Linked DNA regions of Homo sapiens: all the other regions are linked to region 3. The links are contacts of gene promoters, found by promoter capture Hi-C in blood cells and fetal thymus (Javierre and others, 2016). All regions are on one chromosome and are shown on one strand. The core of a region is centred on a gene start or on the middle of the fragment in contact, and the rest is flanking DNA. Distances in the headings are between cores, read along the strand shown.

Evidence for each region. Contacts are between HindIII fragments. The CHiCAGO score rates a contact against its expected background, and 5 or more counts as called.
Region 1: a contact is called between a fragment that was not itself captured here and the fragment with the promoter of PPP2R2B-AS2 in region 3, in 6 of 17 cell types (naive CD4 T cells, total CD4 T cells, total CD8 T cells and 3 more). The highest score is 8.6, in naive CD4 T cells.
Region 2: a fragment that was not itself captured here is called in contact with the fragment with the promoter of PPP2R2B-AS2 in region 3 in 12 of 17 cell types (total CD8 T cells, total CD4 T cells, naive CD8 T cells and 9 more); the score reaches 16.2 in total CD8 T cells.
Region 4: a fragment that was not itself captured here is called in contact with the fragment with the promoter of PPP2R2B-AS2 in region 3 in 16 of 17 cell types (total CD4 T cells, total CD8 T cells, naive CD8 T cells and 13 more); the score reaches 36.6 in total CD4 T cells.
Region 5: a contact is called between a fragment that was not itself captured here and the fragment with the promoter of PPP2R2B-AS2 in region 3, in 14 of 17 cell types (naive CD8 T cells, naive CD4 T cells, total CD8 T cells and 11 more). The highest score is 17.6, in naive CD8 T cells.
Region 6: a fragment that was not itself captured here is called in contact with the fragment with the promoter of PPP2R2B-AS2 in region 3 in 5 of 17 cell types (naive CD4 T cells, naive CD8 T cells, total CD4 T cells and 2 more); the score reaches 7.8 in naive CD4 T cells.
Region 7: a fragment that was not itself captured here is called in contact with the fragment with the promoter of PPP2R2B-AS2 in region 3 in 5 of 17 cell types (total CD4 T cells, naive CD4 T cells, naive CD8 T cells and 2 more); the score reaches 6.3 in total CD4 T cells.

Annotation. Positions count from the first base shown.
Region 1 is chr5:146,903,544-146,907,144 of GRCh38, forward strand. It overlaps a transcript of PPP2R2B not described here. Among named protein-coding and RNA genes, the nearest start is that of PPP2R2B-IT1, 14 kb to the right of the region's middle. The HindIII fragment of the contact is 1,449 bases long and covers 1,017-2,465 here.
Region 2 is chr5:146,983,547-146,987,025 of GRCh38, forward strand. It overlaps a transcript of PPP2R2B not described here. Among named protein-coding and RNA genes, the nearest start is that of PPP2R2B-IT1, 66 kb to the left of the region's middle. The HindIII fragment of the contact is 742 bases long and covers 1,105-1,846 here.
Region 3 is chr5:146,561,649-146,564,923 of GRCh38, forward strand. PPP2R2B-AS2 (PPP2R2B antisense RNA 2) reads left to right here and starts at 1,578. Exons shown (of 6, transcript NR_188288.1): 1 at 1,578-1,823. The HindIII fragment of the contact is 13,845 bases long and covers 1-3,002 here.
Region 4 is chr5:146,961,898-146,965,338 of GRCh38, forward strand. It overlaps a transcript of PPP2R2B not described here. Among named protein-coding and RNA genes, the nearest start is that of PPP2R2B-IT1, 44 kb to the left of the region's middle. The HindIII fragment of the contact is 2,488 bases long and covers 103-2,590 here.
Region 5 is chr5:146,944,991-146,948,337 of GRCh38, forward strand. It overlaps a transcript of PPP2R2B not described here. Among named protein-coding and RNA genes, the nearest start is that of PPP2R2B-IT1, 27 kb to the left of the region's middle. The HindIII fragment of the contact is 4,830 bases long and covers 1-3,347 here.
Region 6 is chr5:147,008,025-147,011,577 of GRCh38, forward strand. It overlaps a transcript of PPP2R2B not described here. Among named protein-coding and RNA genes, the nearest start is that of PPP2R2B-IT1, 90 kb to the left of the region's middle. The HindIII fragment of the contact is 1,435 bases long and covers 1,208-2,642 here.
Region 7 is chr5:146,925,118-146,928,555 of GRCh38, forward strand. It overlaps a transcript of PPP2R2B not described here. Among named protein-coding and RNA genes, the nearest start is that of PPP2R2B-IT1, 7.3 kb to the left of the region's middle. The HindIII fragment of the contact is 7,230 bases long and covers 1-3,438 here.

The DNA.
Region 1 (3,601 bases), core at 491-2,990, 340 kb after region 3:
TGCCACCACACCTGTCTAACTTTTAAATATTTTTTGTTGAGATGGGGTTTCGCCATGTTGCCTGGACTGGTCTCAAACTCCTGGGTTTAAGTAATCTGCCACCCTTGGCTTCCCAAAGTGCTGGAATTACAGGTGTGAGCCACCATGCCCAGTCAAAAGAACCACTGTTCTAATGCTTAAGAGTACATGCTTTAAAATCAGATTGACCTGGAGTTCAAATCCTAGTGATACTGATAATTTTTTTGACCCCAGGAAAGTTAAAGTTGTATCAGAATACTCAGTTTTCTCTACAGCAAAATGGGGATAATAATTATTGACCTTACAGGGTAATATGAGCAAAATGCTTAAGCCAGAGTTGGCACACAGTACCAAATGGTGCCAAATGATAGATTCTTCCCATTTCATGACTAACATAATGATCATTATATTGTCATCTTCTAAACATGCTCCGGGGTTTCCTGGCTCAGAGTAATTAGTGATATTCTTGTCTCTGCAGGGATTGTCCTCTCAGAGACTTGTCTAACTACTGAGAGCCAACTGTAGTAGGCTAGTATTTGTAGAATGCAGACATCACTCTCTCTCTCACTCCTATAGAACCAGAAAGACCAAAGTATTGTATTTGTTCTTGAGTTTCTAACTCATGAACTGTAAGAGTCTGGTGCCTAAGAAGGAGAAAAAAATTTTTGAAGATCAAAATCTTGCCTTTAAATACTGATCCACAGTTCCTAAAAGTATGAAAGGTCAGTATTCTGGGGAAGAAAAAGGAAAGAATGCAAGTTTATTATATAAGAACATTATTATAAAAGGAGACCAAAGTTTGACCAAGTGGCAGAAAGTAGGAAATCAATAGGCTTAGTCTAGAGATTAAATATCTACTCAGCCTCTCATGAGGCTTATCAAGCCCAGTCCTGGGGTAGGAGGTAACTAATGGAACTAGAGGAAAGTTGTAGAAAATTCCACAGGCAGTATTGGGAGCGTGTTCCCCGAGTCCTAAAGTATAGCCCAGAGAGGTTGTAAGCTTCTTGGAGAAACCTCATGTCTAACCAATATGGTGCTTGAGTAATGGTTGTAACCACTGATCATACAGACTGGCTGAAGACATCTGCTTGAAGTCCTGTAGCCTCAGTATAGAATGAAAGAGACTGCTAAAAGTAGCTTCATCTCCTTGAGAGAAAAGCAGAAACAGTTAAGAACACAGTGATGAACCCAAAGGTGCCAGGAGTCAAAATGAGGGCACGGACATGGTACTGGAGGTCATGGTAACACCACATTTAACAGCAGCAGGTTAACATTAACATGAGGAACCAGATACAAAAAAGTCACACCCAAGCCAAGACTGGGAGAAAACATATACAAAACATGTTTGCTAAGGAACTTATATTCAGCCTATTTAAAACAACTTTTACAAATCAATAATTAAAAGACAACCTGATAAAAATGGGGGCAAAATATCTGAACAGAAATTTTACCAAAGGATATATATGAGTGGCAAATAAGCACCTGAAAATATGCTCAACATTATTAGTCATTAAGGAAATGAAAGTTAAAACCGCAATGAAATACCATTGCATCTCTACTAGAATTGCCAAGACTAACTATGTCAAGTGTTGGTGAGGACATGGAGCAATTGGGACTCTCATACTTTGCTGGTGGGAGTGGAAAATGGAACACTGGAAAATATTTGTTATTCCCCTATAAAATTAAACACACACCATTCAATCCACTCCTGTATATTTATTAGGAAGAAATAAAAACATATCTCAATCTACTCCTCTCCTGCATATTTATTAGGGAGAAATAAAAGCATGTCCACACAAACATTTGTACTTGAATGTTCTTGTCTTAAGTTTGAAATTTTTAAATTTTTAAATTTTTATAATAGAGATGGGATCTCACTATGTTGACCAGGCTGGTGGTCTTGAACTCCAGGCCTCCAGTGATCCTCCAGCCATGATCTCACCTTGACCTCCCAAAATGTTGGGATTAAAGACATGAGGCACTGTTCCTGGCCTGAATGTTCTTAACAGCTTTATTTATAAGCCAAAAACTGGAACAGCCCAACTGCCCACCAACTAGTGAATGGTATAGTACATCTATACAATGTAATACTACTTAGCAATTAAAAGGAACTCACTCCTATTAAATACCCTCTAAATAAATCTCAAAATCAATGTGATAAGTGAAAGAAGTCAAACAAAAGGCTAAGTGCAATCTGATTTTATTCATATAACATTATAGAAAAGACAAAACTATAGAGTCAAATGGCAGATCATTGGTTGCTAGTGCCCAGTGGTGGTAGGTTGGGATTGATTTCAAAATAGCAGGAGTCAGCTTTTGGGGATGATGGAAATGTTCTCTGTGCTATCCAGTATGGAAGCTCCCAAGCCACATGTAGCTACTGAAATTTTAATTACATATAATTTAAATTAAATAAAATTTAAATGGAAATAAAAGTTATAATGGAAAGCTTGTAAGCAGGATTGAAACAATTTGGACATTTGAACCTATTTTTTCAGCTGTGAATTTTATAAGTTCTAAATAAAAATTAAGTATTTCTAGTAAAGATATATTGTCTGAGTTGAGATATGTTGGAAGTGTAAAATACACAATAGACTTGAAAGAATGGATGTGAAAAAAGACATAAAGTAGCTCCTTAATATATTCTTATATTGATTCCATAACAAAGTGATAATATTTGAATATATTAAGTTAAAGAAAATATATTATTAAAATTAATTTCACCTGCTTCTTGTACCATTTTCCATTTATTTATTTATTTATTTATTTATTTATTTGGAGACAGAGTTTCACTCTTGTTGCCCAGGCTGGAGTGCAATGGCGCGATCTCGGCTCACCGCAACCTCTGCCTCCTGGGTTCAAGTGATTCTCCTGCCTCAGCCTCCCTAGTAGCTGGGATTACAGGCATGCGCCACCACGCCCAGCTAATTTTGCATTTTTAGTAGAGACGGGGTTTCTACATATTGGTCAGACTGATCTCGAACTCCCGATCTCAGGTGATCCGCCTGCCTCGGCCTCCCAAAGTGCTGGGATTACAGGCGTGAGCCACCGCACCTGGCCTTTTTCTTTTATTTTTAATTGACACATAATGATTATGCATCATCATATTTATGGGGCACAGAGTGATATCTCAATATATGTATCTTTCTTCTACTTTTTGGAAATGTGGCCACTGGAAAACTTTTAAATTATGTACCTGGCTCACCTTATACGTCTATTGGGCAGTACTGTTCTACCTCATGACTGTGGCAGTGGTTACAACACTGTATGCCCTTGTCAAAACATATTGAATTGTACATTTAAAACTAGCACATTTTTTGAAATGTCAATTGCACTTTATGCAGCTGATTAAATTTAAAGAGACAATCTACTTCTAAGAAGACCAGCCGAGTTACACTGTAGCAGGAGACAGGATGAGTAACACAGGAAGGGGGCGCTGCAGGGACAGAGGCCTAAAGGGAAGACCAGGAAAGGCAAGAGGCTCCTTGGCTGATTGTGGTGAGGACAGAAGATAGCGCAGGATGCCATTCCGACAGGGAAGTAGGAAAGTACAGGAGGCTTTTGTGGGTGTAAAATGGAATGT
Region 2 (3,479 bases), core at 226-2,725, 420 kb after region 3:
TTATCACACTCTCCTGGGGGCGTCATTTTCCCAGTTCTAGTAAACTACAGAAATCTTACCTCCCTTTACACTAGTTTATTGTCCCCCATTTATAACTATTTTAAACTTCTCTTCTACATAAATTTAGAACCTCATCAGACATTGTCATAATTTTTGCTTCAATTGTTAAATATAATTTAGAGAACACAACAGAAAAAAGAAAATCTGTTGTATTTACCCACATTTTTGTATATTGCCTTTTTTCTTCCTTCCTCATAAGGTAAGATTTCTTCTTTTATAATTTTTTTTCTCTTTAGAGGATTTCTTTTAATCATTCCTTTAGGGTTGATTGGCTGATAACAAATTGTCTTCTTTTCCAACATCTGAAAATGTCTTAATTTTCCCTTTATTCTTTCTAAACATTTTTATTATAAATTAATAATTTATAACTAAATGTATTTATGTGGTACAAAGTAATATTATGATTTATGAACACAATATAGAACAATTAAATCAAATTAGTTAACATATCCATCCCCTCAAATACTTGTCATTTTCATAATGAGGACATTTGAAATTTACTCTCTTGGCAATTTTGAAATTTACAATACATTATTAACTATATTAAACATGCAGTGCAATAGATCTCAGAAAAAGACCACCACCCAACTTATTTCTCTTGTTTACTGAGACTTTGTATGCTCTGACTATCATCTTCTCATTCCTCCAACCTCCCACGGTCTGGTAACCATCATTCTACTCTCTGCTTCTATGGGTTTGATCATCTTAGATTCCACATGTAAGTGAGAACATGTATTTTTCTGTGCCTGCCTTATTTGACTTAGCATAATGTTCTCCAGTTCCATCTATGTTGTCACAAATGATACTTTTCTTCTTTTTATAGACTAAATAGTATTCCATGATGTATATATGCCATATTTTCTTTATCCATTCATCTGTTGATGGACACTTAGACTGATTCCATAACTTGGCTATTGTGAATAGTGTGGTAATAAACATGGGACTGCAGACATCTCTTTGACAAACTGATTTTAATGTCTTTGTGAATATCCAGAAGTGGGATTGCTGAATCATATGGTAGTTCTGTTTTTAACTTTTAGAGGAAGCTTCATACTGTTTTCCATAAATTTACGTTTCCACCAGCAGTGTACAAGGGTTCCTGTTTCTCCACATTCTCACCAACACTTATCTTTGGCTTTTTTTTTTAATAAAAGTAATTCTGACAGGTGTGAGAGGATATTTCTTGTGGCTTTAATTTGCATTTTCCCAGTGATTACAAATGTTGAGCATTTTTCATATATCTGCTGACTATTTGTATTACATGCCTTCTTTTGAAAAATGTCTATTCAGGTCCCTTGCTCCTTGTAAAATTCTGTTCTTTGTTTTCTTTCTATTGAGTTGTTTCAATTTCTTATATATTTGGGATATTAACCCTTTATCAGATGTATAGTTTGCAAATATTTTCTTTTTCTTTTTTTTTTTTTTTTTTTTTGAGACGGAGTCTCACTCTGTCAACCAGGCTGGAGTGCAGTGGTGTGATCTCGGCTCACTGCAACCTATGCCTCCCAGGTTCAAGCAATTCTTCTGCCTCAGCCTCCTGAATAGCTGGGATTATAGGCATGTGCCACCATGCCTGGCTAGTTTTTGTGTTTTTAGTAGAGACAGGGTTTCACCATATGGGCCAGGCTGGTCTCGAACTCCTGATCTCGTGATCCACCTGCCTCGGCCTCCCAAAGTGCTGAGATTACAGGCGTGAGCCACTGCACCTGGCCTTAGTTTGCAAATATTTTCTTCTCATCCATAGGTTGTCTCTTTACATGGTTAGTTGTTTCCTTTACTGTGCAGAAGCTTTTTAAGTCTAATATAATCCAATCTGTTTATTTTTGCTTTTGTTATCTGTGTTTTTGGGGTCAAATTCAAAAAATTATTGCCTAAACCAATGTCATGTAGTTTTTCTCCTATAATTTCTTCTAGCGGCTTTGCACTTTCTGTTCTTATGTTTAAGTCTTTAATTCACTTTGAGTCAACACCATAAAGGCCATATAGGATAAGCCCACGGCTAACATTATACTCAAAAATAAAAGATGAAAAGTCTTCCCTCTAAGATCTTGAACAAGACAAACATGTCCACTCTCACCACTTATTATTCAATGTAGTATTGAAAGTCCTTTGTCAGAGCAATTAGGCAAGAGAAACAAGAAAAGGCATTTAAATAGAAAAAGAAGAAGTAAAATTGTCACTGTTTGCTGATGACATAATTTTATATAAAAATCCTAAGACTCCTTCAAAAAACTGTTAAACTAATTAAAAAATACACTAAAGTTGTGGGATACAAAATCACAAAAATTGGTATCATTTCTATACAAAAACAACAAACTATACAAAAAAGAAATCAAGAGAACAGGAAAAGGTAGAGCAAGATGGCATAATAGAACCCTCTGACAAGTATCCCCCAACAAGAACATCAAATTGAATAATAATTCATGTAAGACAACACCTTCACAAGAACTAAAGAAATCAGGTGAGAGATCATACTACCTGATTTTACCATAATAACAAGAAGAGGCACATTGGAGAGGGGAGGAAGGACAGTCCCACATTGCCTGTACACTGCTCCCCCAAACTTGGGCAGTACAGCACAGTGCAGAGAAAGAATCTATCAGTTTGGGAGAGAGAGAGAAAAGTGTGTGTGAGACTTTGCATTGGAACTTAGTACCAACTTGCCACAGAAAAATACAACATGGAATAGAAACCTGCAGCCCTTGATTCCAGGCCAATGTCCACAGAGGGTGTACTTAGACCTATCCCTGGCTAAAATGGAATCTGCTGCTGCAGCTGGAAGAAACTGAGCCCTGAAACACTTCACCATTGGCTGACTCAAGTGTCCTCAGGTCCTGAATAAATTGCAGCGGAAGGCAAATTGGAAATTCAAAATAGCTATTTTGAAGATGCTCAACAAATTTCAGTAAAACACAGAGAAGCAATTCAGAAATTTATCAGAGAAATTTATCAAAGATATTGAAGTATTAATAAAAAAACAGAAATCCTGGAGTAAAAAAATATGGATGAATTGAAAAGTACAGTAGAGGGTCTCAATAGCAGAACTGATTAAGCAGAAGAAATAATCAGTGAGCTTGAAGACAGGCTATTTGAAAATACACAGTCAGAGAGGGAAAAGCAAAAAGAATGCAAAAGGACAAAGAACACTTATGAGCTATATAAGATAGTATCAAAATAGCAAATGTAAGAGTCATTGCCCTTAAAGTCGGAGTAGAAAAAGAGAAATGGGTGGAAAGCTTATTTAAAGAAATAATAACAAAAAACTTTTCAAAAGAGAAATATATAAATAGGTAGGGGAAGCCCAAAGACCACCAAGTAGATACAACTCAAACAAGACTATCTTAAGGCATATAATAAACTCTCAAATGTCAAAAACAAAGGGAGGATCCTGAAAGCAGCAAGAGAAAAGAAGAAAACAA
Region 3 (3,275 bases), core at 328-2,827:
AAGATCTGGGGAAAGAGTGTTCCAGGCAAGGGAGCTGTGAGTTCAAGCGTGGTAGGATAAAGAGACCGGGTCATTCAACAAACATGAAAGGAGAGAGTGTGGCAGGAAAGCGTGGTGTGAGATGATTAGAGAAGTGTGCAGTCCAGAGCTAAGAGTTCATAATAAGAAATTTGGATTGTATTCTAAGTACAGCTGGAGGATTTTATGTGGATGCTTGACATATTTTGGTTTATGGTGGTGGTGGGAAGGTCACTCTAGTTGCTGTGTGTGGACTAGGTTGTAGTTGTGGGGAGGAATGGGAGCGGGAAGGGCAGTTGGAGGCTTCTGCAGTGGTTAAGGTGAGAGATGACGGTGGCTTGGACCAGTGTAGTTATCAGTGGCATGATGGCAATAAATAGATGGGGTCACGAGTTTTTCTGGAGGCTCTGGAATTTGGTGGCCAGGTCTTATGTGTACAGAGAGAATCCGCCCATGGATTCAGTGTGGGCAAGAATGGAGTGAGGGAAACTGAGGATGGCTCCTAGGTGTTTTATGGGTTTTAGGTTTTGGCTACCCTCAAATCTAGAAAAATTTGGCAATTTCGGCTCACATAATATATCAGCCTTTTTCTGCCTTGAGGATTTTCTCATTAGCTATGTCTCTCCATGAGCCTCTCATCTTTTCTATGCTCTGGGCTTTCTCTTCTTATGTTCTCTGTTTTGTGGGCTGAATATTTTTGAGCAGGGATGGCATTATTTAGAGCTTTTTATTGGTAGCCTACTGAGTGCTCAAACCTGTGCTAGTCCCTATAGGGAATATGGAAAGACTTCTTGGAGCCATTATTATGCTAGTGTCCATTGTGATGCTCCTGGCAAGGGCATTCTCCTATTCCTATGACCACAGAGCTTCCCCTTCCCCTTTGCCCTGAAGATTCTCTCATGGGACTAGTGTTTCATTGAATAACATGTTGGTTATGTGTAGCATGCTGGTTACGTGTAGCATGCTGGTTATGTGTAGCATGCTGGTTATGTGTGGCATGCTGGTTACGTGTAGTGTGCTGGTTACGCGTAGCATCCTGGTTATGTGAGGCATGCTGGTTAGGAGCTCTAGGCTCAGGATCTTGATTCTGCCCTCTTTGGTTGCATGAGCTGTGCAAGCTGCTTAACATCTTTCAGGCTAACTTTCTATATTTGTAAAATGGGAAACAGACTTCTTAGGAAGATTTTAAGAGATGTCTTACAGGACCTGGCAGATATATGCTCAATAAAAAGTAAACTAGCTGGTGTTGCTGCTGTTGCTCTTACTGTTGTTTTTATTGACTTGAATAAAGGAATCTTGCACCTGTCAAAATGAAACACTACATAGTAGGTCCTGATATTTTGCCATACTCAGCTGGTGATAAGAATCAGAGAAGCCAGCCATTTGAATAACTATGATTTATTGAATTCTTACCATGTTCTAAGTTCTTTATGTATACTGTTTCGTTTAATCTTCACAACAATTCTAGGAGTCAGGTTCAATTGTTATTGCCATTTGATAGATGATGAGGGCAATGAGTCTTAGAGAGGTTAAATAATTTGCTAAAGGCCACACAGCCTGTAAAGTGGCAGAAGCTGGGACCATCCAACTCTAAAGCCCACATTCTTAGACATTAGGGGATATTGAATGAAGTGTGTGTATGTATGGGGGAATTTAAGAGAATATCAAACCATTTGTAGAGTTCTACCCAATATAGAGACCTTATCTAATGTAAGAGAACTCTGAAGACATCTCATTGATTGAATGCTCTCCCCTTCATAGCAACTTCTTCTGCGGCTTCCTTGCCTGGTGCTCCAGTCTTTGAGGTATGCTTGATGGTTCTGAATTCAGATTTGAATCATGTGTCTGCCTGGTTTTTGTACCCTTGGACAGCAAACTTAATCGCCAAGGCTCAGTTTTCTTCCCTTTTTTTTTTTAAAGTGGTTATAATGGTATCTATGCCACAGGCTTGTGGTAAAACTTAGTCTGATGAGATCTGATACATGCTGATGTTTATTGGGCACTTAATATTATTATTAGTGAAACCTGGCTAAATATAACTCTTTGATGAATGTATGTAATTTCAGGGAGTTAGTTTTACTAAAGTACTTGAAAATGTTAATTGATCTAGGATACTTTTATTTCATAGACAACGTATAGGTAAAGTCAATAACAGTTATTTTAGATTTTGTGAATTCTAGGGTAGTAGCATTAGAATGGAAGTTTTATTTCTTTTAATTGGACTACAGCCACCATTCCATAAATCTACTGCACACCTTAAGTCACCCAGTGCTCTTGCATTCATCTTTGTTCATTGCTTGGATGTCAAGCAGTCTGCCTGGAGCTGCTTATAGAGGCCTAAATTTAGAATCTGCCTACCTATAAATAAGGTCCAGAAAGATAGATGACTTCGGTCACCTGAAACTGTTATTAGAAAACACATAGACTAACCTATCAAGGGAATGAGAGGGAGGACAAGAGAGGTAGGCCTAGGGAGAGGGAGGACAGAGCTTAAAAGGAGGGGTTGTGATGGATTGTTTAGCACCTGTAAACAAAGAACTGTGCCTGGGGCTCTCCTGGCTGTTGGAAATCCAGCCCAAATGTTCAATGACTCACTCAATCGTTGTTCAGCTTGTTTAAGTCCATGCCATTTGTACATATGATGGGATTTTATGAGACATTTTACAACAATTCCCCACCAGTGTTTGGGGAAATCATGTCATAAGATTCAACCTTCTTTCTTTTTCCATTCTGAGATGGTTTCTCCTAAAATAGCTTTTATGTGCCCTGAGCAGTTGGCTACTCTGTTTCTACTAAGAAATACAGGCTGGCCTCACTGAGCAGGAGGCCCTTGCATTTGATTTTCAGAAGAGCACATGTATTTGAAAGGATTTCATTGTCCTTTGTGCCAGGAAGCAACAATGTCTGAGTCAGACTCTTCTGGGTGACCAAAAGAAAGACTCACCTTATTGTTTTGTTATTCTTTATAGGTGGTTAAGGGTATAAGCTTTGTAGTAAGATGCATTTGGATTCATGCTCTGCCTTCATGTCTCCCCAGCTCTTATCTTGGGCAAGTTAGAAACCTCTTGGAACTTATTTGTCCATCTAAAAAATGGGGATGATAACGTCATCTCATAGGTTTGTTGTGAGGGTATTTAAAATACTTAGCAGTGCCTGGCACAGAGTTAACCCCTTAATAAATGGTATTGATTATAAGTATGAGGCTGTCTTCTCTGCCTCACCTTTCTCCTTGTCTTATCTAGTAGTTTTGAGTGGCT
Region 4 (3,441 bases), core at 97-2,596, 400 kb after region 3:
GCTTTGGCAATTCCTGGTCATTGCTTGTGTGTGTCCCTAGAGAACAGAATGAATTAAGGAGTCACCATCTAAGGTGTTTTCAACAGAAAACACTTTGGCAAAAGCTTATTTAGCTAGTCTGGGATTAATTTTCTTAACCAGTTAGAACTTCAAAAAGAAGGGAATGAGTTAATAAACTCTTCGCAACATCCCTGCCCCCATACTCCCATCTAGTATGGTCTTCTGAGTCTGCACATGGCTGGGGCTCTTCTTTCCACACGTGTACTCTGAGCCCTAGAAACACTTAGGCTGTGAAGCACAATACACTTGTTTTTTTCTTTGGGTCAGTTCAAATTGATCATGCCAACTCTTCCCATTCCCTCCTCTTTGCTTCCAATGTTTCCTTTCTCTTTTGTTTTTCAGAAGAAGGTAGAAGAATTTGGTAGACAGAGAGAGAGAGAGAAAGAGAATGTGTGTGCATTAAAACCAGACAAGGAAGCGGCTGGGTGTGGTGGCTCATGCCTGTAATCCTAGCACTTTGGGAGACCAAGGCGGGTGGATCACGAGGTCAGGAGTTCGAGACTAGCCTGACCAACATGGTGAAACCCCGTCTCTACTAAAAATACAAAAAGTAGCTGGGCGTGGTGGCACACACCTGTAATCCTAGCTACTCAGGAGGATGAGGCAGGAGAATAGCTTGAACCCAGGAGGCAGAGGTTGCAGTGAGCCAAGATCACGCCATTGCACTCCAGACTGGGCAAAAATAAAAATAATAAAAAAAAAACAACCTTAAAGCAAAAAGTCCTTGGAGCCAATACCAATTGATGACCCAATCAGAGATACCATTTCAGAATTACAAGTATAACCTTATTTGATTCTCATCACCCTCAAGTTCGCTGCGGAACTTGCCAAAGGCCCAAAGCTAGATAGTGGCAGAGCTGGGACTCTAACTCAGGTCTCAATGACTTCAAACTCATTTTTATGAGATTATGTGTCTCATAAGTCACCATGCCTGCTACCTCTTGTTTTACAGGTGAATGAACAAAGGCCCAGTGGACTGAGCAACTGGCTAAGGCACTCAGACTTTCTTAGTGGAGCTGAATAGAGAACACAGGCCCCTTTACTGTGCTGACTCATCTTTGAGATGATGATGCAATTCAACAAGAAAAGATTCAATGTGTACAAATTGGATTGGGGCAATTATTCAAGAACAAATTGTATAAAGTGAGCTACACCTCAAGCTCTTTGCTTTGCTTCCCATTTAGGGGCATTTCCTATGAGTCCTTATACAACTCTCTGTGGTGGTTATAACCTGGTATCAAATCAAATCAAAATCAGAATCAGTGCAGACAATCATTGCATGAGATTTGCTGTCTTCATGGAGGTTTTGTGTAGTGAAACATTGGGCTGACATCGCCTAGGGAATTTCATGTGAAAATTCCTCCCAAACATTTTTATTCTCAGAGTTCCTCTTCTTAGCACCACCACGGAGTAGGGATCTGGAGGGTGAAGTGAGGTTTTTTCTCTCTTTCCCCTTCTCCTGTCTTGCTCTCTGCCTCACCACTCACTGGCTCCTACCTGAACTTCCAGGTTAGTCCTCCACTCACACTTGGAATTTCTTATCCTTTTGCCCTGCAGAACACTTAATTGAACATATTGTGTTAGTTGAGCATTTCTTTGGGGTCCCAAGTTTTTCCCCAAGGGGTTTATCAGCAATTATTCTGAACATATACGGCACCTTCAATTTCCTGTCTTCATTTTTTTTCCCATAGATAATGTTATTATCCCAATTTTTACTAATGTTATTATCCCCATTTTAAGAAGTCTGAAGGTCAATTAGAGTAACTTGCCAAAAGTCACACTGCTAACACCTTGCACAGCCTAAATTCAAATCCATATTGGTCTGACTTCTAAAATTCTGGCTTTGTTTAATGACATTAACTCCCTAACTCATTGTATTAAACTCTTACTATCTGTGCTAATTTCTCAAATATTGTATAAAAGGAGTTGTCCTCTAAAAAGAACAATTGTAACAGCTTGACCTTTCAGGTCTCATTCAGAAGGTTCTTACAAAGACAGCTCTCTATTATGAATAATTTACCCTTCTCAAGGCTGAATTTCCTCTGATGATACTTGACCTTCTCCAGGCATGTAGGCCATCCAAATGTAGCCCTTAAGTCAGCTGGACACTGGGGTTCAAAGATAGTTTTGCCTTGTCCATTGCTCAGTGAAGCCATTCCTAAGTATGCTCCCCAAAACATTTATCCTATTATCCTCTTAAACATGAGATTCCACGGCTAAATACGTCAGAAAACTGAGAAAACAAAAATTAAGTTGGTGTTTCCCAGTTGCATTCCATTAAACACTGTTGTGTGAGCTGTTCATAGATCTGACAGTCAAAGAAAAAAATGAAAAAACAGTTTGAGGTTAAACAATTTTGGCAAAATATAAATACTCTAATTCCCTTTTGGGAGATTTATGATAAACATTAGCATATTAACGCTTCTGGCATGTCCTGCTAAATAGTTTGACTTGGTGCTTCGCAGATTTTTTAACCTTAGGATATTTTTTTTATCTTGCAGGACCAGCCCGCAACAGCCCACTCTAGAAAAGCTTCTGGTTTAAGTTCTCAGCTCCTGTATTTATTTTTATTTTTATTTTTATTTTTATACGGAGTCTTGCTCTGTCACCCAGACTGGAGTGCAGTGGCATGATCTTGGCTCACTGCAAGCTTTGCCTCCCAGGTTCATGCCATTTTCCTGCCTCAGCTTCCCGAGTAGCTGGGACTACAGGCTCCCGCCACCACGCCAGGCTAAGTTTTTGTATTTTTAGTAGAGACAGGGTTTCACCGTGTTAGCCAGGATGGTCTCGATTTCCTGACCTCGTGATCCACCTGCCTCCGCCTCCCAAAGTGCTGGGATTACAGGTGTGAGCCACCGCACCTGACCGGCATCTCCTATATTTTTAAGGGAGTTGACAAAGGGTCCTCTTTTGGGAATCTGGGCCTGGTCCTGCCATCTATTATTTGGGTGACTGTGAACAAGTCACTCCTCTCTGGGGCTCAGTTTTCCCATCTGTAAAATGAAGATAATATACCATTTGTCTCTAACTTTCCTTCCAATTCTAGCATACCATCACCTAAACATATGGAATTGATGGGGCTACACACCAGAACATCATGACAAACTGTGTGTTTATATTTTCTTAATCTCATCCTCTTAATTGAGGCCCAGAGAGGAATAACTTACTCACAGTCACTCAGTTAGTTTGATGGCAGAATCAGGCTTAGATTCCCAAAAGAAAATCATCCACCAACTCCCTTCAAAATATATAAGATGAAAATTTAAGCCATATGTTTGTTTCCTCCAGAAATAAAATAATAATATTTTTCAAGCTATAGAATTCTTATACATACACATAATTTGTCCCTATCTGCCAGTACATCATAGAAGGTATTCCCCA
Region 5 (3,347 bases), core at 512-3,011, 380 kb after region 3:
AACTTAAGATTTGCAAAACCCTCATTTACACAGATAGACAAACTGACTTCTAGTATACGTTAGCCATAGTTGGGGAATTATTTTTCAAATTAGGCCAACATACAGCACTTTAATGACCCATGTTAAATCTCTGTAACTCCTGATGAATACCTGCTTTGTACTTCCTACACACTATACTATCTAGTTAATTCAGGAAGAAAAATAGAAGACATTAGATGCAACTATTACCAAACAGGGTAGTGAGGACTTGGATATGTTCTTCAGGTTCCTTCCTCAAAATTTAAGTCCACTTTTCATCAATCACTGGGAGAGGCAATGTAGGAAAATTTATTTACAGAAATGAGGAAAGCAACCTAAAACTGGGTGGATAATTATTAACCAAATGGATTTTATTTTAAAACAAACATTTCTTTTCTGCCAAACAGATTTTTATCTTGGAAAGCAAATACTTTTCCAGAATTGGGCCAGAAATCATGGTCTGAATTGTAATAGTTGTTTGGGCACTGTCCAAGTCCGATATATTGACTACCTTGCTCCCCACTGCAACCCAGAGGCTTTTCGTAACAAGAAGCTAAAGTTGTGCTGCTATAGCAGCTGCTGATGATGTTTTTTAAGGGCTGTGTGCCCAGGGTGCACCCACTGGAGAGGCAATAGGAAATAAAAATAGCAATTTGTTTTCCTAAAGTTTAGAGGACAGTGGGGGAAAGCATTTTCAGCCTTGTCATCAGGGATAACATAGTTTTATATTGTGTGCACATAAGTCTAATTTTTGAAGACAGAAAATCATTGTGTAAGGCAATTCGATTTGAGAAAGAATGTTACTGATGGTATGCAAGAAGAACCATTGTTTCCAAGAATGAGCTGAGACACGTGTCAGATCTTTCTAATAGCCAGGTGTTACTATGGACCCCTGCCTAATGGTCAGTGTGTCGTCAGCTGCTGGCAACTCTTACCTTATAAAGACAAATATTGGGATTGTGCAGAGACTGAAGTGTGACCAGAGGCTGAGTGAGATTTGTTACATTTGGGCTATCGATTCTAATTCACAATTTAGTTTTTGAGCCAAGCCAGCCGTTAGTCATGTGGATTCTATAAAATGATTTATCTAAAATCTCTTTATCCCTGTGTTCCCTTTTAACGCTGTAGCCGCTTAAGCAACAGCTTTACACAAAAGGACATACAATTAGCTAGTAGCGAGTATAGCCCAACTACCCCTGTGCACACTTCAGCAATCAACTTGAAGCAGTACCAGATGAAGAGAGACAAGTCTTTTTTTCCCATCTTTCAAAGGTGGCTCTGATATCTGTCTTCCCCCTGTCCCCCCACCACTGCTTGGAGTATGATAGGACAACAGCAAGAGCTCACATGCCAAGTGATGCTTGAATTCATGGTAATTGCTCCTCCTTCCAAGTTCTGGGGTGTAAGTTAGAGTCTTTCATTGCAAGTTTCATTTTCAAAAGGCAGTGCAATCAATAGTGTTACTTTTCTGAGTCCCAAGTCTGTTGCTTAGTCTCAGCATCTCTGATGACTGTGGGTCTATTAGCATAAGCTAGAACTGTAAGTGGTGAATATTTTTATTATCTAAAATTACACTAGAACTGTTAGGCCGAAAGATTACAATTTGTCACTGAATGTGGATGTATGGAGAATTGTATGTAGAGTATATAAAATCTTTTCTATGTCTAATTTGCATTGCAAATTGAGAAGCTAACCAGAGGTCTTGAGGAAATAACATAAATAAAACATGGCTTCACTACTGTAAATGCTCAATTCATGCCAGAGGAGGCCGAAGCCATTACAGAAGGATTGTTTCCATCTAAACAATTCCCATCTCACACACTTCCCTTCTAAAGTGGCTGCCAATAGGACGGGAATTGGGTGGTTGGGGTAGGGGTGGGGGTATCCGTTTAGACAGCTTTAAAAAATACTCAGCAGAGAAAGCCTGAGAGGGTGTTTCTCAAGAAAGCCAAAGTCAAGGCTCAATCCTGCATCTTGTTTTATGTTGAACATCCTCACAACTGAAGGAAAGACAGCAACCTGCTCTTCAGTTTCAGCCCCAAGGAACCAGAGATCTACACAAGGTCAGTAATCAGACAAAGCTCATTACTAAACGTTTAGGGAAAAATTCCATAATATGAGGCAGATGCCTTGGTTAGTTTACAGACAACATTCAGGATCTCTCAAAATGTGAACTTCAACTTCAGTGGATATTTGTTATATTTCTGCACAGCATTTATGCTCTCTTCTTGTGACAACAGCACCCCAATTCTACTTTGGGGTCTATCTCTTCATTATTCTACCTGCATGTGCTTTGCGCCTACTTCATAATTTCCAAAGCCTGAATATGTGGTTTAGACATCTGTGCAGTCTGCCCTCTAGTGATTGGATCAGGATCAACAGGGACCAGCACGTGACTGAAATCTGGTCAATGAAATTCATTTCCTGTTTTTTCTGGAACTGTTGGAGAAGTGGACTGTCTCAGTCGCTGAGCTTGGTGCTTTGTGTAATGAGATGATTGAGGCTTGGAGCTGCAGCCAGAGAACAGAGCCAATGGGACAGAAGCCAAGTTGAGAGGCCAGAAGAAAGACACAAGGTGCCTAACTAAACATATGGTTTAAAGCCTTATATACCTGGGGCCAGCCCTATTTTGTGACTGCTTGATGAGGCAATACATTCTCTTGTTGCTCAAATCACTTAGACTTTCTGTGAGAGATCTAACGGCCATATGCACCTTTCTCACCACTGTCCTTTCACATCTCACCATCTACCACTTCCTTCTTTGGAGCCGCTGTAAGTGAACTTGGCTTAGCCATGCAACCCTGTGTTCTCATGAGTCCATGCTTTTGCTTATGCTACCACTTCATTAGGAATGCCCTTGCGTTCTCTTCTTTTCCTCAAGGCGAAATCCCACTAATCACCTTTCATGTTCAACCCAATCACCTTCTCTGTAAAGGGATTCCTAATGAAGTGGTAGCATAAGCAAAGGCATGCACTCATGAGACCACAGGGTTGTGTGGCTAAGCCAAGTTCTCTTCATTCATATTTTTCCCCTACTCCTCTCAAGGCAAAATTTAAAACTTGCCATGCTGTGTTCATATAATCGTTTCCCTTACCCTATAAACCCTTAACACTTTATGCAAATACTTTTTGAGACTGTCTGTCTCTCCCATGAGGCTTTAAGACTGGGGACTATGTTTATTCAACATTCAGAGGCAGGAAACATTGTTACGGGCATGAGCTGTCTTTGGATGCAGACTGCCTGGGTTTAAACACTGGCTCTGCTGCTTCCTAGGTGTTTGGCTTAAATATATTATCTACTCTGTCTGTGCCTTGGTTTCCTCATTTAT
Region 6 (3,553 bases), core at 675-3,174, 450 kb after region 3:
GAAAAACCTTTGGATCGATTCTTCTTATTTATTGAACATCAATGAAATAAATGAACAGTACCTCCCAAAGAGGCCAAGGATCACTCCCATTTATGTTGAGGGACAAAAATATTTGTATAAAGAGGAAGCAGAGAATGACATTCATTGGATCTTGAGAGGGAAGCCATGGTTTGTGTAAATGTAGTGACTAGTTGTCAAATTTTTTAATAAATTAGTGCTCCCAACTTATGGACTTTTTGTCAGGCTCTAGTTTCTTTAGAAAGCCATGTGAGATGAAGGGATAGGGGGAGGAAACACAGGCTTATGAAGGTCTATGCATAAAACATTTATGAATAAATGTTAATTTATTCATAAAATATTTTAATTCATAAAATATTTATGAAACACCTTATGAAGGTCTATTCATAAATCTTCACCCTGGTGTCTATGCTGTCTTTCCTCATGCCTGCTACTGATCACTGTTTGTCCTAACTCAATAGGACTTTCCACTGTTTGCCAACATACTCTGTGAACCTACTCCCTTCTGCATAGGTTGAGATGTTTATCTATATAAAATGGGCTTCCATGCTTCTTCATATCAAAATCTTATTCATGCTTTGAGATCTAGCTCAAGAGTCACCTCTTCTAAGAGGCCTTCCTCAACCCCACCCCCCACTCCTATGTCCCTGTGGTTGTTACAGAGGAGTCAGCCTCATTTAAGGCACACCTCAGATGTTTGAGGGTTTCTATTCCCACACATCATCTTTGATAAGTTCTTTACATCCCACTGAAGGAGCTCAACTCTAGTTTCTGTTTTGTTGATTGTCAAACTTTAATCACAGCAAAATAACAGAAACTTAGCTTTTGGCCAGAGAACCTGATCATTCTGCTACTCAGTTCTTATGAAAAGCATCAGTGTGGGAAGTGATATTCACATCGTCCTTAGATTGCACCGTTTGGGCCTCTTTACTGATCTATGCTTGAATGGTGTGTAATCTATCTGAACTAAGAAATATTATAAAAATGATCACCATAAAATCCATTGCTGCATTACTTTTAGAAAGCTCTTAGAAAAAACTGGCCATGTGCTTTTATTACCTGCTGGAGAAATTGTTCTCATGATTGAAGATCAAGAAAAACTACACTATTTATAAGCAACTGGTGAGCTTTCATCATGTTGATAGCAGTGAATTCTGTTCTGTTTTCCTCTTTACCCTGGCTTGGAAAAAGCTTGGAGTGAACATTGAATAGAATGTTTTGATGTGCATTTTAATGCTGATCCCATTCCTGGCTTCACATTATTTTCCTAATTTTATTTACTTTTTAGTCTCACCTCTATTTTTTTCCCTTTTGCCTATATACTTCTGTAAGACACTTTAAATCCTTGTATGAATGAGGTAGGGGATACATACTTAGATAATTCATATTTCTTTGAAAGCAGATAATCTAAATCCTCTTTGTTTTGAAATTCTAATACTTAATCTAGAACTTGACATGTTGTATACAGTTTTAAAAATAATAAGACGAAGGATGAGGTGGAAGGAAAGATTAAGTTTGCTGGCAGAGGTATCTACATCCTACTTTTACATCTAGACAAATGATGGGAAAACTCAAGTTTTTTTTAGGACATGCAAGCTACACCAAAAATTTTAGAAAAACTGAAAACCTAAAGATATCACTTCACATGTTTTCAATTCATTTTAATATTGCACAGACTTTAAGGTTACATACAGATATTTGGCATACATAGACATGGCTACAAATTCAACAACTATCCCAAGTGTAAAATTATTGTTAAAGTGGTTATTTCCTAACTTTCTGAGGCACATTTATACATATTTATATATATACACACACACATACACACACACACACACACACACACACACACACACATATATATATAGGACCTGGAGATAATTTAAGCATTTTTTATACTCACTATAGCCATTCTAACACAGAGGTGTTGTGACTATTAAATGAGATGAGAATGCACTTTGTAAAGTTAAGAATCTTAATCAAGAGCAAAGTGAGGTGTGCGTACTCATAAATACACACTTTACAAGGGCATTCATTTATCTGTCAGAAGGAATTTCCAATTTTTGTGGTTGACATAAAAGGGCTATAAATATGGTGCATAAAAGCACACATACACAAACACAAACCCAGCAATACATAAAAACAAATAACAGTTGTTACTGAGTACATGAACTACTTAGAGTCAGCTAGACTAGTGATCCCCAACGTTTTTGGCACCAGGGGCCGGTTTTGTGGAAGACAATTTTTCCACAGACTGGGGCAGGGTGGAAGGGGGAATGGTTCGGGGATGGTTCAAGTGCATTACATTTATTGTGCACTTTATTTCTATTTTTATTGTATTGTAACATGTAGTGAAATAATTATACAACTCACCATAATGTAGAATCAGTGGGAGCCCTGAGCTTGTTTTCCTTCAACTAGATGGTCCCATGTTGGGGGTGATGGGAGACAGTGACAGATTTTCAGGCATTAGATCCTCATAAGGTGTGTGCAACCTAAATCCCTCTCATGCAGTTTTCATAGAGCTTACACTTGTATGAGAATCTAATGTCTTTGCTGATCTGAAAGGAGGTGGAGCTCAGGCAGTAATGCAAGTGATGGGGTACAACTGTAAATACAGATGAAGCTTCACTTTGCTTGCCCGCCGCTCACCTACTGCCCTCCTGCTGTGTGGCCCAGTTCTTAACAGGCCACGGATCGGTAGTAATCTGTGGCCTGGGAGTTGGGGACCCTGATCTAGACTCCTCTATGTGTCTCACACTTACTCCATATCCAGTTGGTTCACACATCTGGCCACTCCCAACCTACTCTACAGCTGCCACCCTGGACTGAGCTGCTTCATGGCCAGACTCCCACCATTGCTCTCATCCCTGCTCAAACATTCTTCACACAGAAGCCGGGGTTATCCTTCAGAAACCTGACTCAGGCCTTGGCACTTCTCTACTCAAAACCCTCCAGTGGCTGCCCACGTCACTGAGGGAAAAAGCCAAAATCCTTGCCACGCTCCCTTCCTGTGACCTTTCTGGATGCCTTTCCGACTACTGCCCCTTCTTCAGCCCACTCCAACCACTTGGCCTCTTTACTGTATTTTATATGTCACAGGCACACTCATGGCCTTTGATTTTGTTCTTCTTTGTGCCTGGAATGCTCTTATCCCAAATTTTCACATCGTTTATTTTCTCATCTACTCCATGTCTTTGCTTATAATGTCACCTCAGTAGGACCTTCCCTTTCAGTCCTATTTAAAATTATAAATGCCCCCCCCATCCCTACATAGGAGCTTTCCATTTTCTTCCATTGCTTAACTTTTGTCTGTAAAAATTATCACCCTTTAACATGTCATATATATCACCATATATATCACAAATAAACTATATATAACTATACAACTAACTATATAACTTGCTGTCTATGCACAAAATTATTGAAAGTATTATGTAAAATTACCTTCAGACTATGTCTATAAGGAATATATAAAACAAAATGACAATTTGAGTTCCTCTTTTCCTAATTGAATACCCTTTATTTCCTTCTC
Region 7 (3,438 bases), core at 326-2,825, 360 kb after region 3:
ACACTACAGTGTTAAAATTATTGTTTCACACAGTCCTATGTCTTTTAAAGAAATTGGGAAAAAGGAGAAAAAATATATTTTATGGAATCTTTTATACTAACATAGTTATCATTTACAGTGCTCTTCATTTTTTCCTGTGGATTTGTGCTATCATAGAGTACCATTTCCGGAAGGCCTTCCTTCCTTTGGTACATCTTTTAAAACAGGGCTGCTAGCAATACATTTGCTCAGTCTCTGTTTATCCAAAAATGTCCTTATTTTGCCCTCATTTTTGAAGGATAGTTTTGTTAGATACAGAATTCTTGTTTGACATTATTTTCTTTTTGCAGTATGGATGTGCTATTCTTCTTCCTTCTGGCATCCATGGTTTTAGATGAGAAGCCAGCTTAATTGCATGGATGCTCACCTTTCTATGGTGCGTGCTATTCTTCTTGCTGCTTTCAAGATTTTCTCTTTGGATTTGGCATACAACAGTTTGACAATGATGTGTTCAAGTGTGGATCTATTTGTATTTATCCTGCTTGGGTTTCTTTGAGCTTCTTGGGTGTATAGATTAATTTTCTAAAAAATCAAATTTTGGAAGTTTTGGCCATTATTTTTTCAAATAGGTTTTCTGTCCCTTTCTCTTCTCTCCTTCCGACATTCCCCTGACATGGTTGTTTCTGTGCTTGAGCTTGTCCCACAGGTTTTTGAGGGCCTGTTAATTTTACTGCAGTCTGTTTTCTCACCATTCTCTAGATTGAGTAATTTCTATTGATTTATAGTTCACTGATTCCTTGTCTCTCAAATCTGTTGTTGAACTCTCTAGTGAAAAATTTTAAATTACCATTATTGTACCCTTCAGCTACAGAATTTTCACCTGGTATTTTTAAAATAAATTCAATATCCTTATTAAGAATCTATTTGTTGATCTCTTGTTACCCCACTTTTCTTTAATTCTTTAAACATGGCTTGCTTTAGTTCTTTGGAAATATTTATAATAGCTGCCTTGAAATTTTTGTCCACGAATATTTGGTAACACAGAGTTTCTATTAACTGTTTTTCTTTTCTTGAGTATGGGTAACACTTTTTTTTCTTAAAAATGGGACATTTAAGATAACACATTGCAACGACTCTGAATTCTGATATTTTTTTTCCCTTTATGGTGGTTGTTGCTGGTATTTTGTTTGTAACTTTCCTGGACTAAATCTGTGAAATCTGTTTCCCCTAGGCTACTAATGCCTATGCTAGTCTAAAATATATATACATTCCTGATTTTATTTATTTATTTATTTATTTACTTTTTTTTTGTTTTCGAGACGGAGTCTTGCTGTGTCACCCAGGCAGTGCAGTGGTGCAATGTCAGCTCACTGCAAGCTCCGCCTCTCGGGTTTATGCCATTCTCCTGCCTCAGCCTCCTGAGTAGCTGGGACCACAGGCTCCGATTTTATTTTTAAACTTGGCTTGCTAGAGGTTGCTCCTGTGTCTGTATAGCCTTAGTGGTCAGCTAATGATTGAACATCATTTATGTTCAAACACCTTAAACCACTAAGATTTCCATCCTTTGCCCTTTTTCACCTATTTTCAGGTAGAGGAGCATATACAAAGTTCAGGCTCTTTTCAAGCTCCCCTGAGTCTGATATCTGCTGGACCTTTTTGAGTCTCCTATGCACATGCATTGAGACTTTGGGTAAACCAGAAGCATATAAAGGGCTTCTGTCTCTTCAGTCTCCACTGCCCATATGCACAGCCTCAGCCAGCAATATGCTGTCTCTGATCACAACTGCAACTTCAGGCTGATGGAGCTGATGGCCCTCCCAACTCACTCCCATCCAAGATGATCATTTCTATTGACAACTTTGCTTGGTGTCTGCACTGCCCAGCTCTTCAAACTGGTTGAGTCTCCTTCAACATCTACAGAGAAGCTACTGGTCATCATGGCTTGCTGTACCTTGGCAGAACCTATAGGCTGGGTTGAGGTGGATGAGAGGAGCCCTAGGTCAGAACATCTCAGATTCCCAGTGTTCCTGAGTGATGTCCCATGATTTTTAAAAAATAAACACGTCTCAGGTTGTCATAGGCCTTTGGCTGATTTCCAGAGCACAAATAGTTGAAGTTTCCAACTTTGCACAGCTCTATCATTGCATTTTGGGAAGAGGATTTACCCAACCTCCTCCTAGAGTCATAGCTAAAAGTCCACTCTTTGCCTTGGGTTTTGACTCGTCTCTCTCTTCTTCCTTCATTTTCCCCTTTCACACACTTAAGTCCAACACTTGCTAGTGGCTCTAGAGCAATAAAATCTTTCTTGCACATATAAGATAACTTCAGCAACAGATTATATAGTACTATTGATATAAACCACGCAGATTAACTTGCGGCAAGTAAAAGCATTCAGTGAACTCTCTAAACACCGCTTGCCATCTATCCTTAGGCTTGTGGCCTTTCCTGCAGGCAAGGAGTGGTGGATATCTGATGCTGCCTGCATGCTGTTACACCTGTCACAACTCTAGCACACATCACTAAATGACTGCAACTTTCTTCCCCACTAACCCTAGACATGGTCTCAGAATCTTCCTCAGACAGAACTCCAGGCAGCCATTATATGGATCAGAAGATGAGACCTTGTAGCCATACTTTCTTCTTTTTTTTTTTTTTTAGATGGAGTCTCACTCTGTCACCCAGGCTGGAGTGCAGTGGTGTGATCTCGGCTGACTGCAACCTCTGCCTCCTGGGTTCAAGCGATTCTCCTGCCTACTCTCTCCTGTTCCCTGAGTAGCCGGGATTACAGGCACCTGCCACCATGCCTGGCTAATTTTTGTATTTTTAGTAGAGACGGGGTTTCACCATGTTGGCCAGGCTGGTCTCCAACTCCTGACCTCGTGATCCACCCGCCTTGGCCTCCCAAAGTGCTGGGATTACAGGCCTGAGCCACCACACCTGACCACCTTCAAGTCCCCAAAGCTGAAATGTATAATTCATCGCACTATCTGCTGTGCTTCCACATATCAGTCAAGGCTTGGGGTTGGTTTCCTGAGGAACATGTCTTTTTTTACTTGTGCCTCAAGCTCAGCTCCTGTGACAGTTTTTCTTCTGAACCTTTGCACTTATTCCTTTGGTGATTTCATCGATTTTCATGATTTTAAATCCCATCCATTTATTGGCCCTTTTTAGGTTTATATATATATTTTTTTAGATCAGATCTCTCCCCCAAACTCCAACTCTCTACATGCCATCTCCACTTGGAAATCTAAAGGACACCTCTAAGTCACCATACCCAAAACTGAACTGTTCCCACCTGGGGCCTCTTCCACCTATAGGCTTTTTCCATCTTGATTGATATTAATTTATCTGCTCAGATGCTCAGACCAAAAAAAAAATCAAGTTATTCTTAATTCTCTTCATTCTCTCTCATACCATCAGGAAATTCTGCTGGTTTTACTTTAAAAATGAATCAGAACC